Regions from separate parts of the Homo sapiens genome. Here region 1 is linked to region 2. The links are contacts of gene promoters, found by promoter capture Hi-C in human tissues and cell types (Jung and others, 2019). All regions are on one chromosome and are shown on one strand. Each heading gives the region's core, a stretch centred on a gene start or on the middle of the fragment in contact. The rest is flanking DNA. Distances are from core to core; before and after follow the strand shown. Region 1 overlaps MED13 (mediator complex subunit 13). Region 2 holds the start of INTS2 (integrator complex subunit 2).

What was found. Contacts are between HindIII fragments. The study calls those that stand out against the background at their distance.
Region 1: a fragment that was not itself captured here is called in contact with the fragment with the promoter of INTS2 in region 2 in 2 of the 25 tissues and cell types used here (adrenal gland and liver).

The regions. Positions count from the first base shown.
Region 1 is chr17:62,025,393-62,031,282 of GRCh38, reverse strand. MED13 (mediator complex subunit 13) reads left to right here. Exons shown (of 30, transcript NM_005121.3): 7 at 1,270-1,432; 8 at 1,632-1,742. Among named protein-coding and RNA genes, the nearest start is that of MED13, 37 kb to the left of the region's middle. The HindIII fragment of the contact is 3,322 bases long and covers 1,142-4,463 here.
Region 2 is chr17:61,926,517-61,932,540 of GRCh38, reverse strand. INTS2 (integrator complex subunit 2) reads left to right here and starts at 4,559. Exons shown (of 25, transcript NM_001351695.2): 1 at 4,559-4,887; 2 at 5,879-6,024. The coding sequence starts at 5,897. RefSeq lists a silencer at 4,429-4,528. The HindIII fragment of the contact is 16,998 bases long and covers 1-6,024 here.

The sequences.
Region 1 (5,890 bases), core at 1,553-4,052, 100 kb before region 2:
CTCCATCACCCTGTCTGTATGATGTACATTCATTATCATTGGTCTTTTTCTGAACCATTTGAGAACAACCTACAGACATGATGTCCCATCACTCCTGTGTACTCAGTGTGTTTCCCAGAATTAAGGACACTCTCCTATACAACTATTACTCGATCCTCTTAGTCAGAAAATCAGCATTGATACACTGCCATCCAGTTTGCATTCCCTGTTTTAGATATTTTGCTTTCTGTATTTAAAAGTAGCGTGCTTTTATTTTTAAAGGTTTATGTGTTTATCTATAATTAAAATTACTCCAACAGAGCAGCCCATTGCTGTGTTCTAATTCTTAGCCCTTAAGTCCTACAAAAATAAACCCAAGCTTTTACAGTAACTGTCAATACAGAACTAAAGCGTTTTAGCTATTAAAAGGGGTTTAGTTACCAAGGTGCTTATTTTCAGCAAAACGCCCTGTTACTCAGAAGAACATACGCATATACTAAAGTTCTGACCCATCGATTCATGCAACAGTTTATATCTCTGCCCTCCCTCCATCTACCTTTAAAACAAAAACACAGAAGAACTTTTTACAATGGAGGAGAAACGTATAAAAACACAGAAGAGCTTTTTACAATGGAGGGGAAATATGCTCATGCTCAGCTGACCTTACAAAAAAGACTGTCTAATTTCCAACTAAATGAGAACACTAAAGTGTTTGGCTAAAATCCAGCAATGATTGACTGACCCAGGTCAGAGGCTGGCAGGGACAGAAGGGCCAGAGTGCTGCCGCTGCAGGGGCTCATCCTGGCCTCCAAACCCCACCTTGATGTGGAAGCCAGGCTCTGTGCAGCAGCTCCATGGCTGGTGTCCAGGGCCCCTTCGCACTACTCCGAAGTCCTTCCAGTCTCCCCACCTCTGGCCAGCCTCTGACCTTGATGATGTCACTCTGGGCATCAGGATAGTCTGGTTTGCTTATACAGCATGATCCATGGGACACCTCCTTCCTTGCCCTCAGCCCACCTCCCCCGACACGCCACCGTGTGCTGGCCCTGCCTGGCTCCTGAGAACCCCACTCTTGGTACTGAGAGTGGTAGGTTACAGAGATGTACTTGATTGCCACATTTGCCTAATGAGATCTGGTTCCAAAAAGTAGCATGCTTTTTATCTCAAAATATAAATAATTTTACCAGATAGCTGGAGCAGCTTGTATCACAAATTAATAAAAAACCCAAATAATGTTACTTTAAACCTACCTTTATTCTCCTACAGCCTGTTTTTTTGTTTTGTTTTCAGTTGATCCTCAGTCTGTCCAGAAGTGGGTCAAATTTTCTTCAGTATCTGATGGCTTCAACTCCGATAGTACTAGCCACCATGGTGGGAAAATACCCAGAAAATTAGCAAATCATGTGGTGGATAGAGTTTGGCAAGAATGCAATATGAACAGAGCACAGAACAAGTGTGTATTTTCATTTATAAGTTCAAAAATTGCATGTTGATAATTACTTATAATTAGAAGATATCTAAAGTATAAACAGTCATTTGTTTGATTTTTCTTTAACTCATAATGTTGATCTTTAAAATTAATTTCAATGCTACATTGAGGTTTGATAGAAAATTTTATGAATTTTAAAGAATTTTGTAACTTTAAATCTTAGGAGGAAGTATTCTGCTTCATCAGGTGGTCTATGCGAAGAAGCGACAGCTGCTAAAGTGGCATCCTGGGATTTTGTTGAAGCCACACAAAGAACAAATTGCAGTTGTTTGAGGTAGATTATTTCCCGATCGATTGATGCCTATGTGTGATAGTTTGTTACGCCACTGAATGCTTATGCCCACTTTATTTGAAACAGCTTACATGAACATATGTCAGGATTTTTTTTCAAAAGAAAATTCAGGAAAAATATTTCAGGAATTTGAAGCTGATTATAGAAGTACATGTAAATATAAGCTTTCAGTTCATTCACTGTTACCAGAGGCAGACTCTGAAAGTTTTGTTTCCTAGTAGCTAAATAAAAGACAATTTTATATGGAGCTATGGTATATATAGTATCTATAAGCTATACAGCCATATAAATCTCTTGAGAAAAGCATTCCTTCCTCAATGGCACTACCTGAGAAATTTATCCCAAGAGTTCTTTCTTTTTTTAAAAAATGAAGAGACAGGGTCTTGCTTTGTTACCCAGGCTGGAGTGATCATGGCTCACTGCAACCTCAAACTTCTGGCCTCAGTCGATCCTCCTGCCCCAGCCTCCCAAGTAGCTAGGGTTATAGGCATGTGCCACCACACCTGGCTAATTAAAAGAAAAAAAAATTCGTAGAGAGGGGATCTTGGTATGTTGTCCAGGCTTATTTCGAACTCCTAACCTCAAACAGTCCTCCCCTTGGCTTTCCAAAGTGCTATGATTACAGGTGTGAGCCACCATATCTGGCCTACAGTAATCTTTTTTTATTTTTTATTTTTTGAGATGGAGTCTTGCTCTGTCCCCTGGTCTGGAGTGCAGTGGCGTGATCTCGGCTCACTGCAAGCTCCACCTCCCGGGTTCACGCCATTCTCCTGCCTCAGCCTCCCAAGTAGCTGGGACTACAGGCGCCCGCCACCATGCCCAGCTAATTTTTTTTTTTTTTTTAAAGTAGAGACAGGGTTTCACTGTGTTAGCCAGGATGGTCTCAATCTCCTGACCTCATGATACAATCTTTTTTTAATAGTAAATACAGTGTTGGGTTTTGAAGAGTAATTTCATTTCTTTTTTTTTAAGCTTTTATTTTTGGTTCAGGGTTACATGTGCAGGTTTGTGAAATAGGTAAAGTCATGTCACAAGGGTTTGCTGTATAGATTATTTTGTCACTCAGATACTAAGCCTAGTACCCAGTAGTTACTTTTTCTGCTCCTGTTGCTCCTGCCAGCCTCCACCCTCAAGTAGACCCCAGTGTCTGTTGGACCCTTCTTTGTGTCCATGAGTTCTCATCATTTAGCTACCACTTATAGGTGAGAACAGGCAGTAATTGGCTTTCTGTTCCTGTGCTAAGGATAATGACCTCCAGCTCATCCATGTTCCTGCAGATGACATGATCTCATTCTTTTTTTATGGCTGCACAGTATTCCATGGTGTATATGTACCACATTTTCTTTATCCAGTCTGTCATTGATGGGCATTTAGGTTGATTCCATGTCTTTGCTATTGTGAATAGTGCTGCAGTGGACATTTGCGTATATGTGTCTTTATGGTAGAATGATTTATATTCCCTGGGTATATAACCAGTAATGGGGTTGCTGGGTCGGATGGTAGTTGTAGCTCTTTGAGGAATCACCACTGCTTTCCACAGTGGTTGAACTATTTTCACTTCCATCAACAGTGTATAAATGTTTCCTTCTCAACCTCGCCAGCATCTGTTATTTTTTGACTTTTTAATAATAGCCATTCTGACTGGTGTGAGATGTTATCTCATTATGGTTTTGATTTGCATTTCTCTAATGATCAGTGATGTTGAGCTTTTTTACATATGCATGTTGGCTGCACATATGTCTTCTTTTGAAAAGTTTTCATGTCCTTTGCCCACTTTTTAACAGGATTTTTTTTATATATAAATTTAAGTTTTTTTAGATACTGGATATTAGACATTTGTCAGCATAGTTTGCAAAACTTTTCTCCCATTATGTAGGTTATCTGTTTAGTCTGTTGATAATTTCTGTGGCTGTGCAAATGCTCTTTAGTTTAATTAGATCCCATCTGTCAGTTTTTGCTTTTGTTGTGATTGCTTTTGACATCTTCGTCATGAAATTTTTGCCCATTTCTGTGTCCAGAGTGGTATTGTCTAGGTTGTCTTCCAGGGTTTTTATAGTTTTGGGTTTTACATTTCAGTCTTTAATCCATCTTGAGTTGATGTTTATGTATTAAGGAAGGGGTCCGATTTCAGTCATCTGCATATGACTAGCCACTTATACCAGCACCATTTATTGAATAGGGAGTCCTTTCCCCATTGCTTGTTTTTGTGAGCTTTGTCAAAGATCAGATGGTTGTGGCAGTGCAGCCTTATTTCTGGGCTCTCTATTCTGTTTCATTGGTCTATGTGTCTGTTTTAGTACCAGTACCATGCTGTTTTGGTAACTGTAGTCCTATAGTATTGTTTAAGCCAGGTAACATGATGCCTCCAGCATTGTTCTTTTTGCTTAGGATTGCCTTGGCTATTTGGGCTCTTTTTGAATTTCATAGAAATTTAAAAATAGTTTTTCCTAGTTCTGTGAAGAATGTCATTGGTAGTTTGATAAGAATAGCATTGAATCCAAATTGCTTTGGGCAGTATGGCCATTTTAAGGATATTGATTCTTCCTATCCATGAGCATGGAATGTTTTTCTGTTTTTTTGCATCATCTCTGATTTCTTTGAGCAGTGTTTTGTAATTCTTATTGTAGAGATCTTTAACCTTTCTGGTAAGCTGTATTCCCAGTTATTTTACTCTTTTTGTGGCAGATGTGACTGGGATTGCATTTCTGATTTGGCTCTCATCTTGGCTGTTGTTGGTATATAGGGATGCTAGTGATTTTTGTACAGTGATTTTGTATCCTGAAATTTTACTGAAGTTGTTTATCAGCTGAAGGAGCTTTTGGGCTGAGACTGTGAGGTTTTCCAGGTCTAGAATCATGTTGTCTGCCAACAGGGTTACTTTTGTTTCCTTTCTTCCTATTTGAATGCCCTTTATTTTTTTCTCCCTGATTCTTCTGGCCAGGACTCCCCATACTATTTTGAATAGGAGTGAGAGGAGGCATTCTTATCTTGTGCCACTTTTCAAGGGGAGTGCTTCCAGCTACAGTCTTTTTTTTTTTTTTTTTAATGATAAATACAGTGATGGATTTTGTGGAGTAATTTCTTATAACATTCTTTGGGCAGCTGTAGGTGAAATGTTGAAATAAGATTCAGAAAATAGGATTCTGTAAGGGAAGAACTGTCACAAGGGAGCAAAACTCAAAGCATGACAAAACTGTCACGCTTTCTAATGGATTATATTGGTTGAATGATTGGTAGAAGAATAGATGAACGTGGAATTCTTTAGAAATTTATTTAGTTTATAAAGGCCTTTTGATAAGGTTTGGTTATGAGAAGTTTTAAAATTATGTTGCCTAGAGTTTATTATTTTATCCTGCAGATTAAACATAGATCATAGGCTTTTGCATTCAAGTAAACAGTAATGGCCTTGACATCCCTAGTCAGAACTTGTGATGGAATAGATGGTCACCTGTCTTTCTCATGGAAGTGAACCAAACAAATGGAGTGCCTGCAGGTTAGGGCCAAGGTTTTTCTTACATTTGCTCTGTTGGTTTGAATATATAATAACAGACTCTCTCAAGTGTGCTGTTATGTTTTTGCATAAATTGAATATTCTTATGGAGGCTCTTTGGATTAAAGAATACGTAATTTTTAAAAGTCTGGCAACTTTGTTGAAAATTTACCTCTGTTAGAGAGATTGGAATAAAAACAAGGATATATTTAGCTATTGTTTAGCAGTTTAAAATAGCTAAAAAAACCACACCTAATCTGAACATAATTTGTATAAGAATGGGGGTCAGCAAACAGTGATGAATTCGCCATATTTGGCCCACTGCCTGTTTTGTATGGCCTGTAAGCTGAAAATGATTTTTTTTAATTTGTTTGAGACGATATCTCGCAGACAGGAGTGCAATGGTGTGATCTCGGCTCACTGCAACCTCCGCCTCCCAGGTTCAAGCAGTTCTCCTGCCTCAGCCTTCAGAATAGCCAGGACTATAGGCACGCGCCACCATACCTGGCTAATTTTTTGTATTATTTAGTAGAGACGGGGTTTCACCATGTTGGTCAGTCTGTTCTCAAACTCCTGACCTCAGGTGATCCATCTGCCTTGGCCTCCCAAAGTGTTGGGATTATAGGTGTGAGCCACCATG
Region 2 (6,024 bases), core at 3,310-5,809:
CCTGTAATCTCAGCACTTTGGGAGGCTGAGGTGGGCAAATCACCTGAGGTCAAGAGTTTGAGACCAGCCTGGTCAACATGGTGAAAACCCATCTCTACTGAAAATACCCCAAAAAATTTAGCCAGGCATGGTGGTGGGTGCCTGTAATCCCAGTTACGCAGGAGGCTGAGGCAGGAGAATCGCTTGAACCCAAGAGGCAGAGGTTGCAATGAGCTGAGATTGTGCCACTGCACTCCAACCTGGGCGACAGACTGAGACTCCACCTCAAAAAAAAAAAATCTGTCTTAGGGCTTGGCACAGTGGCTCACGCCTGTAATCTCAGCACTTTGGGAGGCCAAGCCGTGCAGATCACTTGAGGTCAGGAGACTGACACAAGCCCGGCCAACATGGTGAAACCCCGTCTCTCCTAAAAATACACAAAAATTTAGTTGGGCATGGTGGCAGGTGCCTGTAATCCCAGCTACTTGGGAGGTTGAGGCAGGAGAATTGCTTGAACCTGGGAGGCGGAGGTTGCAGTGAGCCAAGATTGAGCCACTGCACTCCATCCAGGGTGACAGAGCGAGACTCTGTCTCAAAAAAATATAATCAATCAATCTGTCTTTTTAGTTCCATCCTAAAGAAATTCAACTTTATCCCAAAGCAGGGTAGTGTTTTAGTAGTTGGGCTGATTTATAAAACAGTCTCATACTTGAGCCTTGATTGGTGGAGCTATGTCAACCTGGAGGGATGTCTCTAATGCTGAACTAGAAGTCTTGGCTGGACCCAATTCTATTCAATGTTTTATCCATAATATTAATGAAGATATGATCTGCTAAGCTAAAACAGATAGCCAGTGTAAAAGAGTCAAAGATCTTTACAGGCTGAAACATGAAAGAATATATATATTTTTTGAGATGGAGTCTCACTCTGTTGCCCAGGCTAGAGTGCAGTGGCGCAATCTCGGCTCAATGCAACCTCCACCTCTCGGGTTCAAGCGATTCTCCTGCCTCAGCCTCCCAAGCAGCTGGGACTACAGGTGCACACCACCACACCCAACTAATTTTTGTATTTTTAGTAGAGACAGGGTTTCATCATATTGGCCAGGCTGGTCTAGAACTCCTGACCTCGTGATCCACCCGCCTCGGCCTCCCAAAGTGCTGGGATTACAGGCATGAGCCATCGTGCCCTCCTGAAAGACATCTTACAAGATAAAATAGTCACACTATAAAGAGCATCATGTTGAGCAAAATGGAGCTAGATGTCTTCTGAGATCCTTGTGCTTCTGGAATTCTATGACTATTTCTGAAGGACATTGGTCCTCACCTTTGTATAGTTAGGTCTTCTAACTGCTGGAAGCTCAATTACTCTGCAACCTACATTAAGCACCTAGTATACATGAAACATAATAGATATTCTAATGTGTTTTTCTGTTTTTCTCATTTTTTCATTACTTGTGTTTCTCTCTTCCTCCAGTCTGATTGAAAAATAAAGTAGAAGAATAAAAGCAAGCTGGTCAAGCCAGGTGCAGTGGCTTGCACCTGTAATCCTAGCACTTTGGTGGACTGAGGGGGGACAGATGGCTTGAGTCCAGGAGTTCAAGACCAGCCTGGCCACATAATGAAACCCTGTCTCTACAAAAAAATAGAAAAATTAGCCAGGTGTGGTGATGCATGACCATAGTCTCAGTTACTTGGGAGGCTGAAGTGGGAGGATCACCTGAGCCCAGGAGGTTGAGGTTGTAGTGAGCCAAGATCGCCCAACTGCACTGCCGCTCTTTTCTTGAGAACTTGTGTCGAAAAGGAAAAAAAAAGAGAGGCTGGGTACAGGGACTCATGCCTGAAATCCCAGCATTTTGGGAGGCCAAGGTGGGTGGATCAGCTGAGGTCAGGAGTTTGAGACCAGCCTGGCCAACATGGTGAAACCCTGTCTCTACTAAAAATACAAAAAATTAGCCAGGCATGGTGGCAGGCACCTGTAATCCCACCTACTCAGGAGGCTGAGGCAGGAGAATCGCTTGACCCTGGGAGGCGGAGGTTGCAGTGAGCCAAGATCGCACCACTGCACTCCAGCCTGGGTGACACAGCGAGACTCTGTCTCAAAAAAAAAAAAAAAAAAATTAGCCAAGTGTGGTGGTGCACACCTATTGTCCCAGCTACTCAGGAGGCTGAGGTGGGAGGATTGCTTCAGCTTGGGAGGCAGAGGTTGTAGTGAGCCGAGATCGTGCCACTGCACTCCAGCTTGGGCAACAGAACGAGACTCTGTCTCAAAAAAAAAAAAGTTTTATTGGCAAACATTACAATGTTTCAATGATTATAAAGATTTTTGCTAAATTAATACAAGGGGGAGAGATTAGAGTCTAGGATGACTTTTAGGTTTCTGGCTTGAGCAACTCAAGGTCAAGTTGGTGAACTGGAAGAAAAGGAGAGGGGGACTTGGAGGAAGTGTCAGCACTCATTATGTGACACTGCAGCCATCTCATTCAGTGATTTTTCTGTTTCTCCATAGATCAAGATGGAGATACTGAATCTGCATGATGTTTCTCCATTAGTGAACAGAGGATCATAATTAGAGTTGGAAAGGATCTTTAAAATCACTTAGTTCATACCCACATCTTCCTCTCATTCGTCCCTCAAACCAATGTTTGCACTGCCTTCACACTTTTCCTGTGAAATGACCATCCATGGAGATGAAATTGCTTACCCTCTCTCAGTTTCCACAATTGCAAAAGGCGAATATTACCTACGTCACAAGATTGAATCAGATAATATATATAAAGCATTTATTACAGTGCCTAGCAAGTGTTCAATAAATAAATCCCAAATATTAGCTTAAAAATGCTAGGACAGTACAGTGTGCAACCCATTAATAGAGTGTGAAATCAGTTTTAGTGTGCAGTGACCAGCAGTTTTTTAAAGAGAAGTAGAAACATGTAGTGTGTGTGTTATTATACGAAATATTTGTTTCCATGTAAATGTGGGTTTATATGTTATATATTTATATGTTTATATAGCATATAAATTTATACACTTACACTTATTTTTGTATGTGGATATATACATATGTTTTTTCTGGGTCACAATGTGAAATGTATTATTGTGGGTCAGGTGGAAAAAATTTTCAGAAGCATTGCAACACACAATTCTTTTCTTCCTTTGCTGATCTATGTTGAAAGTCATATATATATATATATTTTTGAGATGGAGTCTGGCTCTGTTGCCCAGGCTGGAGTGCGGTGGCATGATCTCTGCTCACTGAAACATCTGCCTCCTAGGTTCAAGTGATTTTCCTGTCTCAGCCTCCGAAGTAGCTGGGACTACAGGTGCTCCATCACCACGCTGGGGTAATTTTTTTTTTTTTTTTTTTTTTTTGAGACGGAGTTTCGCTCTTATTGCCTAGGCTGGAGTGCAATGGCACGATCTCAGCTCACCACAACCTCCGCCTCCCAGGTTCAAGCAATGCTCCCGCCTCAGCCTCCCAAGTAGCTGAGATTACAGGCGCACACCACCACGCCTGGCTAATTTTTGCATTTTTAGTAGAGGCGGAGTTTCACCATGTTGGTCAGGCTGGTCTCGAACTCCTGGCCTCGTGATCTGCCTGCCTCGGCCTCCCAAAGTGCTAGGATTACAGGCATGAGCCATCGTGCTCGGCCTAATTTTTATATTTTTTGTAGAGTTGGGGTTTAGTCATGTTGCGTCAGGCTGGTCTCGAACTCCTGACCTCAGGTGATCCGCCCGCCTCGGCTTCCCAAAGCGCTGGGATTACAGGCATGAGACACCACGCCCGGCTCTGACTTTATTTTTAAAGAGGTTATAAAGTGCTATATCTTTGTAAAATATTTTTATTTCCAGCTCCTAGCACAATATCTGGTAAATAGAAGTTGCCAAATAAACGTTGATCGAACTAGGAACAATAAATAGTATGAAGACATATGGACTAGCGGTTCTTCATATATAGACTAGTGGTTCTTTTCTGAGTGATCAGACTTCCTTTGAGAAGTTGTTGAAAGTTTTGGACCCTCTTCCCAGAAGAAGTGCCGAGCACTCAGTTCTGAACGGATTCCAGAGAATTCCTGAATCCCCGTGCATTGCCTCTCTAAGGTTCTATGGGTCCCCCAAGTTAAGAACCTGAAAGGAAGGTGTTTAACTTCTGACAGCGGAGGTGTGAGGTCAAGAGCGGAAGAAAGTTTGGGGTTAGATCACTTTTAAAATTCTCCCACAAATCCTGGGATTCTAGAATTTTGGTTCTGGGAAGGCACAGGCAAAGATTTAAAGAGTACAGTTTGGTACCACTAGTGTCAAAGAATAGTGGGAACGATTTTAACACACGTTATGCCATTTGAATGCCATGGCAATCCTGTGATGATGAAATTTAAGTTCTGAGGGGCTCAGTGGCTTGCTTGTCTAAAAGGAAGGAGCTGGTAGGCTCTGGAAATCAGAGCCTACCAGAATCACATTTCTAAATTTTTGGCGAACAAGTAGGGCAGGGCAAATAAAGTGGAGAAAGGGGCGGGGCCGCGCACGCGCACAGTTGCATTGGCGCCGACGTCTCTGCCTTTCCTCTCGCAGCCACCCTTCCTCTCAGACCAGTACGGTGGCCGACGGGAGTCAGACGCTGGGGATGAATGAAGGTGCTGGGTGCAGGTTGAAAAAGTCTCCCGCTTTTCCGTTCCTACAGTCCCGGTTCTGCCTTTGTGTGGTGCCCCCATCCTTCCCACTTTGTATCGACAACCCGGTTGGTCCCGGCGTCTGAGTTCTTGGTGTCCGAGTCGACTCGAGGCACAACTAGGGTTTGGGGTTCCGGATATCGCCTAGGCCCAACATCGGACCGCGCTCTCGATTTCTGCCGCGTCCCGCCTCTAGGACGCGGAGTCCGTGTGCGGTTCCGTGAGGCTGGAGGGTAGATCTTAAGGTATGAAGCGTCCGCTTCTCTGGCCTCAGCGCGTTCCTAGGTCCGTGTCGGAGCCTGGCCAGACTTTGCTCAGCCTGAGGGACTTATTGGTTCTAGTTGCGCCCGGGGCGAGACGGAGGAGCACGCAGGTCTTGGCTCCTCTGCTCCAGTCAGCCCGCCCCTCTGTTAAAAGAGCAGCCCCTCCCTGAAAGCAAAGCAGTTTTTACCCACGACTTTTACCCACGCTGCTGCTAGTCGGTCGGCCTTGAGAGGGGACTGCTTTGGCTGCCAGCTCACTGCCTTTTTGTTTACTTTTTGTGCCTTGGATGATTCCTGGAGACAGAGAAGTGCGCTAATGAGACGCGTCTTTCTCACATAGCACCCACACATCTGCTTTTTACCCGGTAACACAGGGGACATAGGATAGTGTTGTGGCCTCCAGAGCCTTGAATCTGGCATTGGTTCTGCCCAGTGATTTGCTAGTTTTTCCACCGACTCATGGAGGGTGAGAAAGAGAAGCCCAATAGTTCTTGATGTATATCGGGGTAGGCATGTGAAACTATCGGGGTATGAAAGAAAGCACTTAACTATGACCATTCACTTTTGTTTACATTTTGTGGAGCTCATGTGACTGATATAGTGGAGAAAGTCTTGGACTGGGATTTTAGTAGATGAGGATTCAGCCTTGGATTGTGCCTCTAACTAGTAATACTATTTTGGGCGTGTTACTTCATCTCTCTGGGCTTCATATTCCTTCTTTGTAAAATATGAGTATTAGAGCAGAAGATTCCTGAGGCTGGAAGAGACATTAATATACTCTGTTTTCTTTCCCATTTCCCAGGTGACAGTATAAACCTAGGGAGACAGAGAAGCCTTGTCTTGATTGTGCCAGGAACATTGCCAACATAGGGACCTATTAAAGATACACCACATTTTTCAGGGTTTTTAGAAAGTTGGGTGTTCATACATGTGAAAGTTAAACTCCTACTTTCATTTGTATTTTTACCATTAGGATCAACAAACAGTAATAATGACTGAATGTACAAGTCTTCAGTTTGTCAGCCCTTTTGCTTTTGAGGCAATGCAGAAGGTGGATGTTGTTTGCCTGGCATCTTTAAGTGATCCAGAATTAAGACTTCTTCTGCCCTGTTTGGTACG